Regions from separate parts of the Homo sapiens genome. Here all the other regions are linked to region 1. The links are contacts of gene promoters, found by promoter capture Hi-C in human tissues and cell types (Jung and others, 2019). All regions are on one chromosome and are shown on one strand. The core of a region is centred on a gene start or on the middle of the fragment in contact, and the rest is flanking DNA. Distances in the headings are between cores, read along the strand shown.

Region 1 (2,700 bases), core at 165-2,664:
CGCCCTCCCTGTGCGCGCTCAGTGCTTCCACCCAGGCCCCAGGACGGTGACCGCGGACTATCGCGGGCCGCCTAACCGCAGGGACCCCTCCCATCGCGGGTCACCCCCAAGCCTGCGAGAGGGGATCTGTCCTTGCAGGAGGGAGGCGCGGGGCCGGGCTGGTCTCCGGCCACAGCGAGTGGCCCCGGAGCAAGGTCAGGGGCGGTATCCAACAGCCCCGCGCCCTGCAGAGCCCTCTACTCTTAGGAGGACTGCGCGCAGGGACCGCCACGCAGAGTGGTTGCCATGGTGACTGCAGAGTGAGCGGTCCCGGGTTTTAGAGGGAGTCGCGCGCTTGGAGTAGGGGAAAGAGGGAGGCCGAGAGAGGACAAAGGGACAGGAGGGGAGAAGTGAGAAGGGTTGGCGGGGGGGTGAGGGGCTGAACGCAGTGGACGGGAAAGGCCAGCAAAATGGCGAGAGAAGGGACACAGGCGAGAGGAAGGGGGAGTGGAGGCGAAGGGGCGAGGCAGGAGCCGACGCGGGGGCCACCTGGAGCGGTGAACGGAGAGCGCGGCCTGGCGACTCCAAGACCCGCTGCCCCTCGGCCCGGCTTACCGGCCCGCCGCGCCGCCCGGTTCCGCCATTTCCCGTTGCTAGGCGACGCTGTCAACATCCGGCCGGGCCGGGACCACGCGCGCTGCGAGGGCGGGGGCCGCCGGGGGCGGCGCGGCCTTTGTGCCATCTCCACGCACGCAGAGGCGCGCGCCGTCTCGACGTGTCGTCCCTTAGACTGTAATGATTAGAGCACGACCATGCTTTTCCTTTATCGCTCTCTGCGCCCGGGTCCCGCCTCGGCTGCGCTCAATTTCTGTAAAGCGACAGCGGCGTCAGCGTGTGCCCAGCGGGCGGCTCGAGGTCCCGAAGGGACCTGCCGGGCACCTGGGGACCCCGGACTGCTAAGCGCCCGGGAATGGCAGGCGGGCTGGGGGCACCGGGGGCCGGGGACCCCGCGCATGGCGAGCGCTTTTCCATCTCCTGCCCTAGGGGGCTCCGGTGCCCTTCTCCAGGGGTCCTACGGAGACTCCTTGCATGGACGCCCGGGGGGTCTTCCGGAGCGTATCTTCCCTTCCTAGTCCGAAATAGGAGAAATCTCCCTGCAGAGGGCGGCAGCGGAGGGCCAGCGCGCACGCGGAGCGTCCGAGGAGCCCTGCCTTTCCTTTGGGGACGCCAGGCTCGGGACGGGGCACAGTCCCCGAGGCCGGGACGCGGCGAGGCCTGAGGGAGGGCCAGCAGGGAACTAGAGGCTTGGGCCCAGGGCTGGGCCAGAAGGTGGGCGGGGAGACCGGCGGGGGCAGGCAGGGGCCGGGCCGGGGGCGGGCCCGGGGGCGGGCCGGGGGCCGGGCCTCCCCGCGCGTCCCCGCCCCGCCGCGCCTCACTGGCGGCGGCAGCGGCGGAGGCGACGGTGGCGGCTCTCGGAGCCGGCGCGAATCCGGCCCCCGCAGCGGGACCCGGGTGGGTATCGGGGCCCGGACGGGGCCGCGGGGGCGGGGTCCGAGGGGTCCACCGCGCAGCGAGCAGCGCCCCCTCGGCGGAGCTGGGGCGGGGGCGCGCGGGGCGCGTGGGGCGCGTGGGCCTGCAGCCGCGGGACCGGGGAGGGGCCGGGGTCCGGCCGCCGTCCTCGGGGTGCGGGGCGCCAGCAGGAGCGGGAGCGTTGTGGGAGGACCTGGATCACGGAGGGGCACCTGGGGACTTTTCCCCGCGGCGAGTGAGGGCGCCCGGGCCCGGAATGGGCCTAATTCGGGGAGACTGGTCCCCGCCTGTCTGGAGCGGTGGACCGGGGAACTTGCGGTCTTTGTCTGGCTGAATCGGCGGAGCAGACGGATGAGAACTTGTGGGGTGCCGGCGCGCGCCCACACAGCCTCCAAAGTGTGCGTCCCCCCAGCAGCGCGCGCTCAGCTTTCCCGGCCTGTCGGGCTTGGTGGTCTGGGCTGTTTAAGATCCGCGTGTCGGGATACTCACTTCCGTTCCGCCTGGGCTCCCTTGTTCTTTCCTTTGGGAAAAAAAAAAAAAGAAAAAGAAAGAAAGAACGAAAGGAAGGAAAGAAAAAAAGGAAAGGCAACTGAAGATTGCTAAACATAACCTAGGGGATCCTGCCGGAAGCCGCTGAATCCTGAAATCCTGTGATTCCCACACTCGGAAGCTGGTGTCGTATATTGGCCACAAAGTAGTTCAGATTTGATTCAGAAATAGGAAATGAATAGAAAAGACATAACAAAAGTTAGTCTCGCCTTATGGTAAAGTTTGTTTTACTGTCTGGGTCAAGTTCAAATGAGAAGCTGGGCTGATTGGCCAGCCTCTGCGACTTGATCCTGAAGATCTGCTTTCTTTTCTACCAGAAGGCTCCTAATTCTTTTATCTGGAATAAAAAGGGAACTCCGTCTTAAAGATGCTCACGTGAGGCGGCATATTGCCAGAGGGTGGGCGCAAAGACTGGGGGCTGGAGATTCCATTCCAAATCTGTTACTGATTGATCAGAACACTTTTTCAAATCCATGCCTCAGTTTTAGAAAATCCTCATTAGAAACGCTAACAGTAAAATTGGTGAATACTAAACACTTTTAAGAACCATGAAAGCTTTTGTAAATAAAGAATAAAGTGAGGAGTAACTTTTGGTATTAACTACAAAGTTCATTAATGGATGTTGTTTGCATCCTGAGCGTG
Region 2 (2,700 bases), core at 130-2,629, 240 kb after region 1:
CGGGCGCGGCCCGCGGCGCCCCAGCACCTGTGCATTGTGCATTGTGCGGCGCGGGCGGCTGGGGGAGGGGACCGCGCGAGTCCTGGGCGGTGGGGGTGGGGCGGCGGGCCGGGGTCTGCCGAGGGGCGGAGCCGGGCTGACATCGCCGCGGGGATCCCAGCGAGAGCTGTGGGGGACGCCGAACGCCGGAGGGACAACTTGGTGGCGGGGGAGGGGGGCCCCGGCGAGGACAGAGGGCGGCCTGCCCCCCTCGCCAGCCCCGCAGACTGACAGCGGCCGGGCCCGCCTTCCCCTGGCGTCACTTCCGGCGGCGCCCCCTCCCACTCGCGCGCTCGGTCTCTGGAGTCGCCTCGGACTCCGCCCCCTGGCGATTGGAACGCTGGTCACGTAGCAACGCGGGGGAGAAAGGCAGAGGGGCGTGGCTCGGAGCTCGTCCAATCAGCGTGCGGGGGCGCAGGCCTCCGGCCGCTCGGCTTTAGCAACGTCGTTAGCAACACGTGGGGCGGGAGGAAGCACTGGGCGGAGGGGAGGGGGCCGAGCGGAGGAGCGCGGGAGGGGGGCCGCGGGAGGGAGCGAGAGCGCCGGGAGGGGGAGGAGAACTGACGTCAGCGGGAGAGTATTATGGTCTGTCGTGCGCTGGCTGCTGCTTTTCTGCTCCTGGAAGCGGCCAAGGGGGGAAGCGGCGAGTCAACATGGAGCTTTCAGCGGTGGGGGAGCGGGTGTTCGCGGCCGAAGCCCTCCTGAAGCGGCGCATACGGAAAGTAGGTGCCCCCGGGCCTAGGGCCTCCGTGCGGCCGGGCCCTCCCCTCCCGGCCCGGGTTCCCTCCCCCTGCTGCAGCCCAGCTTCCCTTCCCCCAGGTCCCAGCAGCGGCCGCGGCCGTGGCGGCGGCGGCGGCGGCAGCTCTGAGCCCAGGCGCTTTCCTTAGACTTGCAGCGATGCACGGATTGCATGGGTGGGGGGCGGGGTGGGGAATGAATGCCGGTGCATGCACTTTGTGCAGCATTAGGTGCAGGGGTGATGCAGCGGGCGCGTGCCTTTTGCGGCGGGGTTTCGAGCATTCATCTGGTGCATGCATTTTCGCATGCATTTCTTGTATCCTCGTCATGCGTTTCTCCCCATGCACACACATTATCGCCTTTGCACCCGCAGGGACGCATGGAATACCTCGTGAAATGGAAGGGATGGTCGCAGAAGTAAGTAGGTTATATGCAATTCTCAACCCCAGACTGTTATTCGGGAGGTTTCTTTCTTCCTCTTTTTGCCTTTACATTGAAATACAATACAATGCAATGAGAAAAGTTACACACACACACACCCCCTCTGCTCTCACCCTGCTCCTGGGACTGATGCCCACTTCTTCCTGATTCCCTTTAGGTACAGCACATGGGAACCGGAGGAAAACATCCTGGATGCTCGCTTGCTCGCAGCCTTTGAGGAAAGGTACAGACCCTTCCAAGTCCCAGCCGCTCACTTAGAAACAAGTAGAGTGGCTTCTTTCCAGCCTGGACTAGAGTCCCACTTGCTTTCTTTACTCACGCACCCTTTCTCCTTTTCTTCTTTCTCCAGGGAAAGAGAGATGGAGCTCTATGGCCCCAAAAAGCGTGGACCCAAGCCCAAAACCTTCCTCCTCAAAGTAGGTTGGCAGTGTCCAATGGTGGAGGACCATGTTATGGAGTGATTTGTGGGAAGGGGGCTCTGAGGGCTGTGAGCCAATGGGGTGTCCACACATGTTGCCTATTTGTAATGTAGGAGGGAGTTCCCTGACAAGATGTCACCAAGTCAGTAGCAGCACCAACTGTGTCTGGGGGGACGGGCTTGGCCACACTAGAATTCCTTTACGCTCCCCCTCCCAAATGGACACAATAATCAAATGCAAAAAGTGTACTTTTTGCAAATGACTACTTCCAGCCAAATCTTCTACCTCTTCTCTCATCCTTCTACCTCTCAGCTCCAACAGCCATCCCACCCATTCATCCAGCCATCCACCCACCCACCCACCCACCCATCCATGCATCCATGTAGAAATTCCCAGGCATCATAGGGTAAAGATAGGAGGTCAGGGATAGAGGAGGAGTCCTGTGGGGGTGGACAGGGCCCTGCCCCACTCTTGAGACCATCTTCTCTCCTGCAGGCGCAGGCCAAGGCAAAGGCCAAAACTTACGAGTTTCGAAGTGACTCAGCCAGGGGCATCCGGATCCCCTACCCTGGCCGCTCGCCCCAGGACCTGGCCTCCACTTCCCGGGCCCGGGAGGGCCTTCGAAACATGGGTTTGTCCCCGCCAGCGAGCAGCACCAGCACCAGCAGCACCTGCCGCGCAGAGGCCCCTCGGGACCGGGACCGAGACCGGGATAGGGACCGGGAGCGGGATCGAGAAAGGGAGAGGGAGCGAGAGAGGGAGCGGGAACGTGAGAGGGAACGAGAGCGGGGTACCAGCAGAGTGGATGACAAGCCCAGCTCACCGGGGGACAGCTCGAAGAAGCGAGGCCCCAAGCCCCGGAAGGAGCTCCCGGACCCCTCACAGAGGCCCTTAGGCGAACCCAGCGCCGGCCTCGGAGAGTACCTCAAGGGCAGGAAGCTGGACGACACCCCTTCCGGGGCAGGAAAGTTTCCAGCCGGCCACAGTGTGATCCAGCTGGCCCGAAGACAGGACTCGGACCTGGTGCAGTGTGGTGTGACCAGCCCTAGCTCAGCTGAGGCCA
Region 3 (2,700 bases), core at 41-2,540, 240 kb before region 1:
CCAGGTGGGTAGGAGGGAACCAGGGACCCCAGTTTCAGCACAACAAGGGGTGAATCAGACAGAAAGACTGTGCCGTCCTAGCATCCAGCCTCTTCCTCCCAATGTCCACGAGTGGATTCACCTGACTCTGTACTAGGATGTCAGCGCACCTCGGGCACCTCTAAAACAGAGCCTGTTACGCTTTCCTCCCCTACTGTAGACATTCCTCCTGTCTTCCCCAGGGTGGGCATTCTCCCAGTGGCGGCCCAGGGGTCTCAAACTGCTTCCCTTGTCCTGGCACTAAGGCATCTGCCCGCCCAGCTGCTCTGCCTCCAGATTCTCACCCATGCAGAGCTGCCATGCAGACAGCATGGAGCACCCACTCTGCCAGCCCCACACTCACTCTAGCCTTCATTGTGGTGTGGACGCACTTTGTCCATCCCCACCAAAACTCATGTTGATCCCCAGTATGCCAGTGCTGGGAGGCAGGGCTGCGGGGAGGTCTGTGGGTCGTGAGGGCAAATCCCTCACGAATGGCTTGGTGCCGTTTGCGGTCATGGGTTTACTCTTGAGAGGCTTGTTTACTCCCCTCGGGAATGGATTAGCACCCGCCAGGTGGGTTGTTATGAAGTCAAGATGTCCCATCAGGCTTAGTCTTTCACAGCTGTCAGCATCCCCGTCGGCCTACTCTGCCATGTGGCACAAAAGCCCTCACCAGACATCAGGGCCAGGCCCTGAACTTCTCAGTCTGCAGAACTGTGAGCTAAATAAACCTCTTTTTTCTTTTTCTTTTTTTATTTTATTTTATTATTTTTTTTGAGACAGAGTCTTGCTCTGTCGCCCAGGCTGGAGTGCAGAGGCACAATCTTGGCTCACTGCAACCTCTGCCTCCCAGGTTCAAGCAATTCTCCTGCCTCGGCCTCCCAAGTAGCTGGGATTACAGGTGCATGCCACCACACCCGGCTAATTTTTGTGTTTTTAGTAGAGACAGGGGTTTCAGCATCTTGGCCAGGATGGTCTTGAACTCCTGACCTCATGATCCACCCGTCTTGCCCTCTCAAAGTGCTGGGATTACAGGTGTGAGCCACCCCACCCGGCCTCTTTTCTTTTTTCTTCTTTTTTGAGACGGAGTCTCGCTCTGTCACCCAGGCTGGAGTGCAGTGGTGCAATCTCGGCTCACTGCAACCTCCACCTCCTGGGTTCAAGTGATTCTCCTGCCTCAGCCTCTGGAGTAGCTGGGATTACAGGCATGCGCCACCACACCCAGCTAATTTTTTTTGTATTTTTAGTAGAGACGGGGTTTCACCATGTTGGTCAGGCTGGTCTTGAACTCCTGACCTCGTGATCCGCCCACCTCGGCCTCCCAAAGTGCTGGGATTACAGGCTTGAGCCACCACACCCGGCCTTTTCTTTTTCAATTACCCAGGCTCGGGTACTCTTATGGCAACAGAAAATGGACGAAAACACCCTTCAAGGAGTCCCTGTTTTCAATCCTGGGTCTGGACGACCCCACCTCTCCCTGACACACACTCCAGATGGTGCCAGGCCAAGCCTGCTTTTCTGTACAGAACCTTCCCTCTGCCTGATCCCCACAGACCCTTCTCCAAGGCCCCAAGCCAGTCCCAGCTGCGCCCCTGTCTGGACACTTCATCCCCACGCCCGTTTCCAGCACCTGGTTTCGTCACTGCCCTCTCCTCCTCTGAGATCTGGAGGGCAGGGACCACGCAGACCTTTTTCCCTTTGAGTACTCAGTGTTGGCGTAGCCAAGAGCTCAAGAATTCGTGAAGTTCCTTAGCAGGACTCAAAATTGATAACAAATCCTCTAAACGTCTACATACATAAGACACACATGAAACATCACAGCCAGAAAGTAAGAGCTGGAGAAAGATCTGCAACAGGCGACCCAAGGCCCCATCCTTCGAGAGCTGCTGTTTCACCTACAACCAGGGATTCTGAGCCTGCCCCTCCCACCAACCTACCCTCCCACCAACCTACCCTCCCACCAGGGGCGGGCCCTGACTAGCCTAATCCAATCAGGGCCGATATTTACCCTGGCACTAGTGATTGACTAAGGGAAGGGCCAACCAGCAAGAAGTATGGAAGCATCCATACTTCTGGACCCTTACTGGGGTTTCTGCCACTCAGTGCATCCTGGAAAGACCATGAGGTGGTGCTGGGAAACCACTGTCTGTTCTCCTCCACCTGCAGACAAAGCTGGCAGTGGAGAAGGGCAGAGCTGTCAGGATCAGAGAAATGGAGCAAAGCCCTAGTACACTTGAACCCCTCAAGCCTGGACTTGGGCAACGGTGACCCAGCACGTTTCTCTTGCTGAGCAAGCCTAGGAGAGCTGGGTTTCAGGCTGTTCCCAGTATAAACAGTCCCAACAATCATAAGGACCAACCAAAGCAAAACGAGCTTCCCTAAAGACAGACAGGCCGCTCAAGGAAATACACATACATGTGGTCTCTTAACTTCCAAAGAGATGCCTGCCATGCCTACTGATGAAGGAAATCAGAACGGAGGCCCTGCAGTGCCATTTCCACCCAACGACCGGCACAGATTGACAAGATCCATCATTCTGAACGCTGGAGAGAATCTGAATAGAAATCTAGAAGGCAGGGAGCACAGAGACGCGGCCAGTGAGTGGCCAGAGAAGCTTTGTGCAGGGGATTTGAAGAGATTTGCATTGTAAATGTGCCAGCCTGAAGCCAGCAGGCTAGT

Evidence for each region. The method cuts DNA at HindIII sites, captures the fragments that hold promoters and counts their contacts. A contact is called where the count stands out against the background at its distance.
Region 2: a fragment that was not itself captured here is called in contact with the fragment with the promoter of TBC1D16 in region 1 in 2 of the 25 tissues and cell types used here (hippocampus and thymus).
Region 3: a fragment that was not itself captured here is called in contact with the fragment with the promoter of TBC1D16 in region 1 in 1 of the 25 tissues and cell types used here (pancreas).

Annotation. Positions count from the first base shown.
Region 1 is chr17:80,034,586-80,037,285 of GRCh38, reverse strand. TBC1D16 (TBC1 domain family member 16) reads left to right here and starts at 1,414. Exons shown (of 12, transcript NM_019020.4): 1 at 1,414-1,491. It overlaps CCDC40 (coiled-coil domain 40 molecular ruler complex subunit), which reads right to left and starts at 644. Exons shown (of 20, transcript NM_017950.4): 1 at 595-644. The coding sequence starts at 623. RefSeq lists enhancers at 1-136, 1,036-1,155 and a silencer at 1,346-1,415. The HindIII fragment of the contact is 13,824 bases long and covers 1-2,700 here.
Region 2 is chr17:79,794,991-79,797,690 of GRCh38, reverse strand. CBX8 (chromobox 8) reads left to right here and starts at 614. Exons shown (of 5, transcript NM_020649.3): 1 at 614-761; 2 at 1,151-1,194; 3 at 1,376-1,441; 4 at 1,568-1,634; 5 at 2,133-2,700. The coding sequence starts at 693. RefSeq lists silencers at 1-135, 166-375, 536-915 and enhancers at 287-581, 1,829-2,569. The HindIII fragment of the contact is 6,409 bases long and covers 1-2,700 here.
Region 3 is chr17:80,270,381-80,273,080 of GRCh38, reverse strand. The region is part of intron 2 of RNF213 (ring finger protein 213); the gene reads right to left. Among named protein-coding and RNA genes, the nearest start is that of RNF213, 11 kb to the right of the region's middle. RefSeq lists a silencer at 1,933-1,982. The HindIII fragment of the contact is 4,608 bases long and covers 1-2,700 here.